2 separate regions of the Homo sapiens genome follow, and region 1 is linked to region 2. The links are contacts of gene promoters, found by promoter capture Hi-C in human tissues and cell types (Jung and others, 2019). All regions are on one chromosome and are shown on one strand. The core of a region is centred on a gene start or on the middle of the fragment in contact, and the rest is flanking DNA. Distances in the headings are between cores, read along the strand shown. Region 1 overlaps LINC02099 (long intergenic non-protein coding RNA 2099). Region 2 holds the start of KIF13B (kinesin family member 13B).

Region 1 (6,569 bases), core at 2,695-5,194, 520 kb before region 2:
ACCTCTCTGTGAAGTAACCCAGTTAGATATATATTTTATTAGTTAAAGACCTGAGACTCACAGAAGTTGAGTGGCCATGTCCAAAGCTCATAGCCAGGAAGTGGAGGACCTGGGACACGCGTCCTGGCTCCTGACCCTGAGGCTCTCCTTTTACAGTGCACACCAGAATACAGCACCTGCTATTCTGACTTACATCATTTCTAGAAATGGGTTATTGGCAGATGAGACACCGTCTTCTCCCTCCTCATCATGGAAGGCTGAGTATTAGGCAGAATGATAAAGGTGAACTCTACAGAGACTAAGTGCAATTTTTCTTGGTACATTCCCATTGTAAGTAGCAGATTAAGAACTACCAGAAAAAAATATAGCCATGGAGAAGGAAAAGCTTTGCTCTGAAAGACCTTCTCCCCACAGTGAGAATTCTGGTTTCACATGGAAATGGCAGGCAGTAGGATGGCCATTCTCATAAATCATGTCATGTGGTGAAGGCAGAGGCCTCCTTATTTAGAACAATGTTTTAATTTCCCAGATGAACACACCAAGGACCAGGGAAGGAAGTGATTTCCTCATGGTCAAGCTGCTGAATAAAGACAGATCAGGCTCTGGCACCCTACCCTCCTACTTTCAGCTAACAAACCTTGCTAGGGAGCATTCCTATTTCACAGCTACCTTCTCTAGCATCCTCATTTTTGCACATGTGCTGTCATTTTTTTAGATATCAGGATGAATCCTCAATCATCTTGAATAAAAAATACGAACATAGACTTGTTCACCAAATTGTCCTGAAATTCTTTTCATAAAAGGAAACAATTTGAATCTTGGATGGAGTAAACTGAGTGCAAAAAGAAGGAAAAACTGCTTCAGACAACAGGTCACTGTATTAGGCCATTCCTGCATCGCTGTAAAGAAACACCTGAGACTGGGTCATTTATTAAAAAAGAAGAGGTTTAATTGGCTCACGGTTCTGCAGGCTTTATTGGAAGTATGATGCCAGCATCTGTTCAGCTTCTAGTGAAGCCTCAGGGAGTTTTTAATCATGGTGGAAGGCAAAACAGGAATAGGCACATCACATAACAAAAGCAAGAACCAGCGAGAGAGAGTTGGGAGGGAGGTATCCCACATCTTTAAACAACCAGTTCTCGCAATAACCCACTAACAGAAAGACAGCACCAAGCCATGAGGGATCTGTGCCTATGATCCGAACACCTCCCACCAAGCCCCACCTCCAGCACTGGGGATTATGATTCAACATGAGATTTGGCAGGGACAAATATCTAAACTATATCAGTCATTTAATATGCTATATATATATATGAATATTAAAACAGGAAGAAATCTAAGAAAACATAATTTATTGATTGCCTAATTGATACAATTACAATGAATGATAATTCATTGGACACATTTTTATTGCATATTAGTATGTGCTAGGCACAGTGATTAGTACTATGAATATAATGGTGAGCAAAAATGAGCATGGTCCCATCTTCATGAAGCATATAGTCTGGTGGCAAAGATAGGCATCAAACAGATAAACATATAAATACATGTAACATTAATGCTTTAATATGTTTTATGATGAAGAAGTATGTGGTGCTGTGAGGGAATTTAACAGAAGAGAGATCCCTGGATTTGTAATTCAGTCTTTCCTGTAGTTGGATGGAACTTGGAATAGCCAAGGAGTTGAAAGAAGACCAGTGCAGTTGGAATTCAGAGAACAGTAGGAGCATGACGTGAATAGAGGATGTAGGATGGGTAGGAGCTGCAGGGCGCAGGATATCTTATGGAGGATAAGGATTTGATCTTTCTCCAAAGAGCACTGAGAAACCATTAAATGACTTGGATGGGGCACAGAGAAGATGTGGTGGGAGCAGTTATCATATTAATCCTTTGAAAATATATATATTTTTTGACTGCAGGATAATAGGCTGGAAGATGGCAAGAACAGGTGCAGGGAGATCTGTTAAGTGCTTGTTGAAGTAGCCTACGCAGGACACAATGGTGGTTTGACTTTGTGATATGGGAATAGGGAAGAAGAGAAATGGATATATTTGAGAGGTATTTAGAGGTTAAGTGGACTGGATTCGGTAATGCATAAAATCTGGAGAGGGAGGGAGAGGAAAGCACCAAGAATGACTCCAGGTCTCTTAAATTGCACTACTGAATTGACGGCAGTGCCATTCATTGGGATAGACATTGGAAGGGGAGTGGCTCTAATGCAGGGAGAGAATGCTTGGGCTTAGACTGCAAGGTAAATTTGAGGCATCTGTAAGTAGAAATGGAGATACAGTACAGGACCGGAACTCAGAAGATGGTGTTAGCTGGAGATATAAATTTGGGATTTATGAATGACTGGCTATTGAAGCCATAAACATGGACAAGATGGACAGAAAGTACAGAGAGAGAAGATAAGAGGGCCCAGTGTGGAGTCTTTGGTATTATAAGTCTTGATGGCCTAAACTGAGAGGATGAGTAGGTGAAGGACACAGAGAAGGCGCAGCCAGAGAGTAGAAACCATGAGGTGTGATGTGATGGTGACCAAGGGAAAAAGATTGTGTTGAAGAAGAAAGCAGTGGTCTTCTAAGTCAAATCCTGCTTAGAGATTCTGTAAGGTGAGGACTAGAAAAGATACATTGGACTTAATGGTGTGAAGATCATTGAAGAGGCTTAGCTACATCAGTGGATAGCTGTGAGGGGAAGTCTATTGGGAGTGAGATGAAGAATGAACAGGAGGAAAGCAAATGGAACTAAAGTGGTACTTATGGTCTTCCTTTGTGCATCTGCTCATGAAATGTGCCCCAGGCTGGGTGCAAGAACAGGTCCCAGAAAAACCTGTGATTTGCAGTATGACCACTGCTAAATCACCTAACCCTTCCCTGCCTCAGTTTCCTTAATCAATTCTATGGACTATAACCCGGGCTCATGAGGGATAGAAGAGCTTTGGAAATCCAAGCTTAAATTATTCCTTAAATTCACTAAGCGCCAAATGGCAATTATTTTAAAAACTATTTTCCTGTTAAAGATGTGTCCTCCCTCACACCTCAAGAAGATTTTTGGTTTATTTTTGTTTGTATTAGAAGGGATATTCCCCTTTTCCAAATCTGGTCAACAATAGAAAGTCCTTATCTATGTTCTCTTGTGATCTTGGTTTAGGAGATAATATCAAATCTCCCATGTATGTATTGGCTAGTAACGTATTTATTTACCCTTAAGACCTATATTGTTTTTATAATCCTAAGGCTGATGTGAAAGAGGAGAAAAACCTGTTTTTTGTTTGTTTTCTAAATGATCACTAGGTACACTAGAGAGGATTATCCTTCAACAAATATGCCACAGAGTTGAAGGAGGTGATCAGGAATCCCTTAGAGTCTTAGAAGCTCTCACAATGTGACTGATTCCATATGTTTAATGGTAAATATGATAAGCCCTTTAGATTTCTCTGTTAACTTAATTTCCCAGACTGCCACAATGGTGAGTAATTGAATATTAACAGATGAAAATGGAAGCTGTGGACACATGTCAGTTGTCTCATACCAATGGCTCCCTAACGTGAAAAGCCCTGCTGATACCCAAAACCTTACTATGGCCTTTCTTGAAGGAGCAGGTCTGTTGGAAAATAAAGTTATCGTTGGCTAGATAATTGCTATTTGTTTTTTGTTCTCTTGAAGATATTTATAGGGCCCAAATCAGTGGTATGGTAGACTGAGAGTCCTGTGAGAAGTACAGTCAGGGGATATGAGTGAAGATTTGTTGTCTTAGAGCAATGGCTGGAGATTGGGCCAGGCCTGGACCCTTAAAATCTGCTCTATCCTCCGTATTCTTTTTTTGCTGTTTATGTGTTTGGGAGTAAAGGACTCCAGGGTCTTAAGATATAACAGAGTGATAAGATGGAATCAGCCTGGATCCCTGAGTCAACACTTGGTGGTGAGCCTCCAGGAGGAACTTTCCCATTAGACTGCTGCCTGAGCAAGAAATAGACCTTTGTGGTGTCAAGCCATGAAAATTTTTGAGTTGTTTGACATAGCAGTTGGTTTACCCTGAGTAACACATCACAGATCTATAATGCAATGTGAGCTGTGCTATAAGCGAAGCTTATATAAAGTGTTATAAGAAGAGACAAAGGCCTGAGAAGGATAGAAAGATGAGATGATATTTAAGCTTGATAAACAGAGAAGAGTTTGCCAAATGAGACAGGTGTGGAGACAATTTAAACAAGTGGTCTAGTGTGGGCAAAGCCCATGGTGCATGGAAATATATTCTGAGTAAGAGTGAGTGACAAAGTTCCTTTATGGGACCTTTGTAGGGGGCAATTGGAGAAGATGCTGAGGCCAGAGCAAGCACTGAGGGCTATATCTCTTCAGTTTTATCCAGAAGACAGTAAGGAACTGTCAGTATTTCCAAGAGAAAAGCATATGTTAGAAGGATCCTCTGGCATCTGTGTGGGGTATGGATGAAGAAGGTTGCACGTGGAGGCTGGAAGTACATTTAGAAAGTTGTTTCAGACCTGTGATCCCAGCACTTTGGGAGGCCGAGGTGGGCAGATCACTTGAGGTGAGGAGTTTGAGGCCAGCCTGGCCAATATGGTGAAACCCTGCCTCTACTAAAAATACAACAGTTAATTGGCTGTGGTGGCAGGTGCCTGTAATCCCAGCTACTTGGGAGGCTGAGGCAGGAGAGTCGCTTGAATCCAGGGGGTGGAGGTTGCAGTGAGCTGAGATCACACCACTGCACTCTAGCCTGGGCGACAGAGTGAGAGAGAAAAACAAAAGAAAGTTGCTTCAGAAATCTAGCAGGAACTTACAAGAAAATATACATGCAGCACACAAAACACAGGGCCGAACACTAAGAAATATTAGGGCCATTTTGTTTCTTTTCCCTGAATGAGGGAAATGACTGTGGGAATAAAGAGAAAGTGAGTGGATAAAAGAGGCTTTTGGAAGCTATAAATCCTTGATGAACAAGTATTGAATAAATGATGCAGTATCTTTTGGGGATGCTGAGTGGTCTGACTGTTAAGCACCCCATGGTGGGGATGAGGGTTACTAAATAACTGTGTCCCATGTCCTCTCCTCTCACTAGAAGCTCTTAAAAATCCAGACATCCAACAAGAGACCAATAGGATACACTGATGTTTTATGAATGGGGCCAGGACCAGCCTGAGTGTGGAGCCTCGTGGGCTGAGTTTCCCCGGGATTCAGAGCCCTGAGGTTGAGTTTTCTACTGGTCAGCTGGATCAGGTAATCAGTACCTGTGGGTTGGTGGCGGCAGGGAGTTGGGGTCATGCGAGAGGGATTGCGTCTCTGGAAGCCTTTTGTGCTGTCCCATGAAGGGCCCCTTTAGGGAGGGTGGGTGATATGGACAACATGAATGAGGGACAGAGGGCCATATATTCTCAGTTATGCACAAGGCAGCCAGCTCAGCTGCAGGAGGAGATTGCCCACTTGTTCATCATATCCAGATTCTTGCCGTTAGGTCTCCCCTCCTACATGAGGCGTGGATTGGTGGTGAAGTAGGTTGGTGGTGAGCACTAAACGGGAAAGAGTAAAGGTATAGTTGCCTAAAGTACGGACCGTTTCAGGCAATTATAGGAGAGTGGACAGTAATGATGAAATTGATGGAAATTTGGTGCAAGGGGGGAAGAGGGATCCTCTGACAGAGACCCTGCCATCATCAGTCTAGGCAGGGAAGGGACACTGAGATGTCAAGATGTCATCACATCTATTCCTGGAAATGCAGGGCTGCACTTCCAGCCATACCCGGGGGAAGCTGTCTGCTCTTTCTGAAAATATCTTGAGATTTCGTTAACACATTGTCCCTTTTAATATACACCACTGTCTTACCACCCTAGGGAACTTTTTTTCTCTCTCTCTCTCTCTTTTTTCTTTCTTTCTTTTTCTTTTTCTGTGTGTGTGTGTGTCTAATCTAATTCCTTACAGCTGCAATATATTCTGTTTTTCCTTGCAGTTCAGCTGCTATAAAGAGACAGTGCCCGGCCACCCATACAGCATTCCATTGTGGCAGACAATGGACTGGTGAAATGCAACGTAGACAGTCTGAGGACCCTGTGCAATGGAAACTCCAATTGAAATTGTACATAGTCACTAACATTCTACCTATTCAAGGGGGCTGAAGACAGAGTCTAAGAAAAAGCTCTGAAGCCAGAGCACTGTTGCAGCCTCGGCCTCATTTTCCAACAGGTACACTAGAGTTATAAATACACGCATGGGCCACAGGGATGGCAGAGGTAGACAGGAGCTGCGTGGGTGTGGGCCAGCTCCCGGGCTCATCTTTGGCACTATGGAGTGCTGGCATGTTGTACTTGTTCCGTGAGAATCTGGGTCCACACTTCTATTCTGCATCCCTGGTTTCTCAAAGGGACAGTGACCTCTACCAAGAAAACAGCTAGTGGGGCTGTTTACATGGAACAATGAGGCTTGGTGTTGGTCTGGATCTGGTTAACTGGGGGAAAGGAAGGGAGTCGCTATGACTTTATCCCACTTTGCTTTGCAGAAGTCTTTCATATAATCAGAGGGCTAGAAAAGAAACAGAAATACATATGCCGGCTGCTA
Region 2 (7,296 bases), core at 2,057-4,556:
ACACTAAATAAGAGCAAAAGAACAGTAGGGCAAAACAATTTCAATATAAAATCATACCCTTTATGATCTTTTTTAAAAAAAAAAAAAGATAGTGATGGTAGATAGTAATTTTTGTGTGCATTCTTTTTCAAATAATTTACTCGGTGACCTAGCACAATGGCTCACACCTGTAATTCCAACACTTTGGGAGGCTGAGGTGGGAGGATCACTTGAGGTCATGGGTTCAAGACCAGAGTGGGTAACATAGCGAGACACTGTTTCTACAAAAAATTTAAAAATCAGCTGGGCATGGTGGTGCATGCTTGTAGTCCCAGCTACTTGGGAGGCTAAGGTGGGAGGATCGCTTGAGCCTGGGAGGTTGAGGCTGCAGTGAGCTAAGATGGTGCCACTGCACTCCAGCCTGGGCACAGAATGAGACCCTGTCTCAAAAAAATATATACTTGCTAAAATTAAGAAGCTGTCATAGTGTCAAACACTGAGATTGGCAATCCTAATTTGGTTATCCTGATGTTGTTTACTTTATTGGGCTGTGAAAATCAAAGGACCTGCTGCACTAAACCCACTGCTGGTCTAGATGAGACCTCCTGAAGTGCAGAGGCAGTGCCCCTAAGAAAGAAATTTCCTTTTTTAAAAAAGAGGGCCTTCTGGGGTAGCATTTTCTATTTTTAACCTTTTTTGAAATTTTGATAAAAAACACGTAACATAAAACTTACTATTGGCCAGGCACAGTGGCTCACACCTGTAATCCCAGCATTTTGGGGGGGCTGAGGTGGGTGGATCACTTGAGGTCAAGAGTTTGAGACCAGCCTGGCCAACATGGTGAATCCCCATCTCTATTAAAAATATAAAAATTAGCTGTGTGTGATGGTGCACACCTGTAATCCCAGTCACTCTGGAGGCTGAGGCAGGAGAATCACTTGAACCCAGGAGGCAGAGACTGCAGTGAGCAGAGATCATGTCACTCACTGCATTCCAGCCTGGGCGACAGAGCAAGACTCCATCTCAAACAAACAAACAAACAACAACAAAAAGCTTACCATCTTGGCTGGGTGTAATGGCTCACACCTGTAATCCTAGTGCTTTGGGAGGCTGAAGTGAGGAGGATTACTTGAGGCCAAGAGTTCAAGACCAGCCTGGACAACATAGCGAGACTCCATCTCTACCAAAAAATGAAATATAAAAATTAGCTAGGTGTCGTGGTGCGTACCTGTAATTCCATCTAGGTGAGAGGCTGAAGCAGGAAAATCGCTTGAGCCCAGGAGTTTGAGGCTGCAGTGAGCTATGATCACACCACTGCACTCCAGTCTGGGCAAACAGAGCGAGATCCTGTCTCTAAAAAAACCCAAAAAACCTTACTGCCTTAACCACTCTTAAGTGGTTAGGTGGCGTTAAGTACATTTACATTGTTGTGCAACCATCACCACCATTCATTTCCGCAGCTGAAATCTTCCCAAGCCGAATCTCTGCACCCATTGAATACTAACTCCTCATACCCCCTTCTCCTAGCCCTTAGTAACCTCCAGTCTACTTTCTATCTCCATGAATTTGACTACCATGTGTATCTCATATATGTAGAACCATGCAGTGGTTGTTCTTTTGTGTCTGGCTTATTTCACCTAGCATAATGTTTTCAAGGCCCATCATCCATGTTGCAGCATGTTTCAGAATTTCCTTTCTTTTAAAGGTATTTTTAGACCGGACACAGTGGCTTATGCCTGTAATCCCAGCACTTTGGGAGACTGAGGTGGGTGGATCACCTGAGGTCAGGAGTTCGAGACCAGCCTGGTCAACATGGCAAAACTACGTCTCTACTAAAAATATGAAAATTAGCCAGGATTGGTGGCACATGCCTGTAATCCCAGCTACTGTCGAGGTTGAGGCATGAGAGTCGCTTGAAGCCAGGAGGTGGAGGTTGCAGTGAGCCGAGATCATGCCACTGTACTCCAGCCTGGGTGACAGAGCTAGATCCATCTCAAAAAAAAAAAAGTATTTTTATACTTTTTGACAACATTGCTTGTATTGAAGATACTCAATAACAGGATGGTTGGTAAAAGGGCAAGTCTTACCAGCTTTCTGTATTTACTCATCTGTAAAATGGTTCTGAGTTCTATTACTATCATTTAAACACATCTAAGCAGGGGTCACAAACCCACAAGGTCCAGGCGCATGTGTGGTAAAGCCACCTGGAGGGGGGCCGTGGTGAAGTGGAGAGACGGGTCTCTGATAAAGGTGGCTGCTGCTATTTAGTTCCAATCCACTCTGTCCAATATGTAATGTAGGCCCAGTACTGCATGCACAAATCTGATTTCACACTCTGTTACCCAAGCTGGTCTCAAACTCCTGGCCTCAAGCAATCCTCCTGCCTCAGCATCCTAAAATGCTGGGATTCCAGGTGTGAGCCCCTGCACCTGGCCACAAATCTGATTTTTATGTGTTGGCCAACACTGTTGGGCCAAACAGAACATGTTTGCGTGCTGGCTCTGGCACCCAGGCCACCTGTTAGAATGTCTGCCAGGGCTAATAAAAAGCTAATTTTAGTGTGGCCTCATTCATTAATTCATGCAATTAATGTTTATGGGTCTCTACTAAAGGCTAGGTTACACATATGTTAATCTTATTTAAAAATGTACCTATTTTACTAGGTATTAGTATCATATCCACTTTTCATATTAAAGACAAGCCCAGAGCGGTCAAATAACTTGCCCCTGGTCACACAGTGGGAAGCGCTGAGGTGGGCTTTGAACTCAGATGGTTTTCAGAGCCCAAGGTCCTGTCTCAAAGGAGGGGGACTCACAGGACAATGTTAACCCGTGGACCTATGGACACTCCCAGAAAACGTGATTTGCAACTTGTCGTGAAGGACGAGCTCAGCAAACAAGGCCGGACGTCAATCCAGGCAGAGGAAATAACTTGAGCCAGGGATCAAACACTAAGATTGGCAGGAAATGAGCAGGAAGAGGTAGCGGGGTCCCTGACGCCATCTATTCAATTGTTTTTCAGAAGAGGTATCAGCTCTTGAAGGCTTACTTCTCAATACTGGCTGCGAGAGCAAGAATGGTGTGTAATTTACAAAAGCCGTCATTGCTGTAGGTAAGTTGTAGCAAACGACTCGCGCCCGAGCATTCCCGCCCCCGCCTTCGCTGCGGCCCCGCCCACGACGACCCTGGGGAACTACAAGTCCCGCCATACAGCGGGGAGCGCCCGGAGCTCGCGCCGGCCCCGCCCCCAGCCCGGTCCCCACCCCCGGCTCCGCCCCCGGCCCCCTCCCGCCGGGTCAACCCCGAAGAGTCGCCGGTGGCCGCGGCAGACGGAAGCCGAACGAGTTCCTCGGCGGCTGCAGGATGGGGGACTCCAAAGTGAAAGTGGCGGTGCGGATACGACCCATGAACCGGCGAGGTGAGAGCCGAGCCCTCCTGGGCCGCCGGGGCGGAGGCGGCAGGTGCCTGGCGCGCCCTTCCCTCGGCCGCCGTGGGGGGTCCGGCGGCCCCGCCCCTATAGTCAGCGGCGGGGCGCGAGGAGGGGCCCGGGGACCCTGAAACCCGCTCCCGCGCTGAGACGCCCGGCTCCCTCTTCTCCCCTCCCTTCCCCCCTGGCCAGCCCCGTCCCTGGCGCCGTCGGGCCCCTCGTGCCGGCCCCGCTGCCCCTTCCGCCTGCGCCCGCCCCGCCCCTGCGCCCTTTTGCCCTCTCGTCTCCCCCGGAGGTTCCCGAGGGCGCCCTCGGCCCTCGCGCCCAGCCTCGTCCTGGCCCCTCAGCCTCGCTCCTTCCCCGCCAGCTGTCATCGTCGCCCCCGCGCGCGGGTCGCCAGCCCCTGCAGCCCGCCTCGGGACCGCCCGGGACCCCCCGGGACCCCGCGTCTCGCCCGGGTCGCCCAAGCCTGCACCGCCTTGGCCCGCGGCGGGAAGAAGGGCAGGGGGCCAGGCGGGTGCCCCGCGGCGAGTTCCTTCCACCTGGGCGTCCTGAGATTGGGGTCAGGTGGAGGAGATGCCCTTTTCGTTGTTTTTGGACAGTTGAGAAAGTTTTGGTTTTGCCTGAAGTCTCATTCATCATCTCTCAATAAATAGCTAAAGTGCCAAGATTCTTGTGGAATTGTATCTTTCTGACATTCTCTTAACTCTGCAGGGAGTGTAGAGAAGGCAGATAAACCGAGTACATTTAAATAATCTGTAGACCCGGGGAGTGGAGAGAACCCCAAAAGTCAGGGGAGGAGGTGGGCTGGGTCTTGGCTTTGATAGTCAAAGCAGCATGACTGGGTGAGTTGCTTTAAATAAGATAATGTGTTTGAAAACGCTTTATATACAAGGTCCTGTCATTGGGGGTCACTATTACTGTCTCAGGAGATGACTTTGCCATTGATGAGACTTTGAACTAATTAGAATCATTTAAGTACCAGAGACAAAGTTGTAGCTTCTTAGCAAAATCAAGTGTTGTTTAATTTTTATGTAGAAATTATAGGTTGTTTTCCTCTTCTTTGCTTTCTTTTGTATATATTGAGACATACAGATCAACCAGTTGACATAAGCTTTGTTGGTTTGTCCTTCTCGGGGAAATTGGTTTCTCGCTTGGAGTTATCTCATCTATGGGAATTGTTTTGTCCTGTTCCTGCTAGGTCCGATTAAAGCTGTCAGGTGAGTTTTTTTCCCTAAGAACTTAATTACTTTAAGTTCTCAACTAGTGCAAGATTGAGTCCTGCTTTGCTTCACTAATCTCGTGCTCTGACAACACACAATAAACGTCGATACAATTCTGAAAATTTTCAGAAGCATCAGTTTTTAAATATTCAGGTATCTGTATTTCAGTTTACTTCCAGTTTACCATCACAATAATTTAAAGAAAGAAGCCAAATGAAACATAACTTATCTGGGAATTGATTCTGAAAGGATGGTTTCAGCACATTCTTAAAATTTCCTTTTCACAAAAAACTTGGAAATGTCAGTGCTAAAAAGAGGCCGCTAACCAACCACCACAAAAGACATCTCAGATATTTAGAGCCCTTTCCCTCTCCCTTTCCCCATTGGTTTCACTTTTTGAGGGAAATTCTTATGCTTTTCTCTTATAAATTGCCATTGATAAGGTTGTAATAAACATCAGAGTTTAGAGGAAGGCAAAGAATAATAGTTTTAGCTGTGGAACGGATGTGAGCTGATCCTTGGGTTCAACAATCATTTTGAAATTGAGGTTTACCCATAGATTCCATTAGCCTATATAGAGAAGTGCATTATTTGGTGTAAAGTACCTCCTGTGTTCACTTAGTGCCCATTCTTAGCCTTATATTTCCTGACGTGCATGTGGACTTCTTTTTTCAGTGATTACCACACATAAATTTGTTCTTTTCCATTTTTGTTATGAAGTAATTGTTCACATAAATATAAAGGTTATTATGGAATACAGTGTGGTGGGATTGTAAATCCAGTGATTTTTAAAAATTGGTGTCCAAAGTTTGTATAAAAAGACTAAAACAGGCCAGGCACGGTGGCTTACGCTTATAATCCCAGCACTTTGGGAGGCCGAGGCGGGTGGATCACCTGAGGTCAGGAGTTCGAGACCAGCCTGCCTAACATGGCAAAACCCTGTCTCTACTAAAAATACAAAAAATTAGCCGGGCGTGGTGGTGGACGCCTGTAATCCCAGCTACTAAGGAGGCTGAGGCGGGAGAATAGCCTGAACCCAGGAGGCGGAGGTTGCAGTGAGCCAAGATCGTGCCACTGTGCTCCACCCTGGGCGACAAGAGTGAAACTCTGTCTCAAAAAAAAAAAAGACTAAAACAAAACCATATTTCTTTCCAGTAATTTCCTTTTTTTTCTTCCTTGTATGATCTGTAGGAACCTTTCCAGTAATTTTGAAAAGAATATTACTTTGAACAGTTATTAGTATTATGTAATACTGTATAATTATGACAAAGAGTAAAACTTGAGTCCTAATAGTTTCTATCATATAGGTGCCGGAAGCAACCTTATAAATCGCTATCTATAAAAGAGGACGGGGATGAGAATGGGTTACTGTGATGATGTAGTTTTACTGTGTAGACTCTGATATTTGGAATCACATTAGCTATCTTTTGAGGAAAATCTGAAAATTTCCAGAAAACTCTGGTGTATTAAGTTCTTGTGTGATTCAGTGGTTGTGCTTAGGTGTTTGGAGTTTTAAGGTGGTTAGCTGATTTATTATTTAACAGTTATCCTCGAAGTGAGAGTATTTTAGTCTTTCTGCTAAACTGTATGTGGGTTTGGGAACCTTAGTTATTTGAAGGTTAAGCATTAGGCCCTAATTCAGTAACAGGAAGAGTTGTAATGGCTAATTTGTCAGAAATATTTGTCTAGTCATACATTTATTTTAACATTCCACTAACAAAAGGAAAAAGAAAAAGAAAAAAGTTCACATACTTTCTTCATCCTAACAGCTTTTCATTTCCATGCCAGTTTGTGCTCACACGTGTATGTAATTTTACATAATTTTAATATTACAACCTTTATTTTGCCTTTCTTCATCTGAGATGCAAAGCTAAACAACTAGAGAAAAGGGTAAATTTTTGTCACAAGATCTTCAAGTTCTATTTGCAGATATCGTTTGTTTTCCAGTGTTGTTGTTCAGACTGTACAGCTAAACAGATAATTCTTGTGTGCTTCCATGTGCCGCACAGAACACCCATTCATACATTATTAACCCGTCTAATCATTACAGGAGCTGAAAGTTCTGTAGCCGTAATTGGTGGGATTAGTTAGATCAGCAACATTCTCCTTTCCAGGAATTTGATGTTTTCTAACTTTAGGTGGCTTAAAAAACATTTAATAGGTAAGCAAACATTGATTGAGTGCCTGCCAGGTATCTGGCTTATATTAGATAGGATGAGATCTTAATGCTTTTCCTCAAGGGATTTCCTGTGTGTAAATCTGTATAAGATCAACTACCAAAATAAGTAAATATCTATAAAAGGTGTTTGGAATACCTTTGTTACCTACCTAGCCTAAGGGGGTAGAACCGGGAAACGAAAGAAATGAAGATAGAAACAGTGAAATAGATTATTTCAGGTGTTAGGGAGAATGGACAAGAAATTTATTTCAGGAGATATTTCAAATGAGTTTACTTGGCATTTTCCAATACTTGATGTGGTGAAAGACACAGAAGTATGTAATAATGTCTAATAGAGTCAATGTAGAGTCAGTGCCTTGGTAATCATGATCTAGTATCTCAATGGAGGGACTATTATACAGCGATTAAAATGATGACAGTCAAAACCATTTAACAAGGAAGATCGTTTTCTCTGTTAGTGGAAAAAGAATGTAAAGCTGTACGTGTAAC

What was found. The method cuts DNA at HindIII sites, captures the fragments that hold promoters and counts their contacts. A contact is called where the count stands out against the background at its distance.
Region 1: a fragment that was not itself captured here is called in contact with the fragment with the promoter of KIF13B in region 2 in 1 of the 25 tissues and cell types used here (lymphoblastoid cells).

Annotation. Positions count from the first base shown.
Region 1 is chr8:29,781,660-29,788,228 of GRCh38, reverse strand. All of the region lies in intron 1 of LINC02099 (long intergenic non-protein coding RNA 2099), which reads right to left. Among named protein-coding and RNA genes, the nearest start is that of LINC02099, 37 kb to the right of the region's middle. The HindIII fragment of the contact is 4,550 bases long and covers 1,670-6,219 here.
Region 2 is chr8:29,259,080-29,266,375 of GRCh38, reverse strand. It overlaps KIF13B (kinesin family member 13B), which reads left to right and starts at 3,306. Exons shown (of 40, transcript NM_015254.4): 1 at 3,306-3,396. The coding sequence starts at 3,342. RefSeq lists a silencer at 3,099-3,928. The HindIII fragment of the contact is 11,996 bases long and covers 1-6,092 here.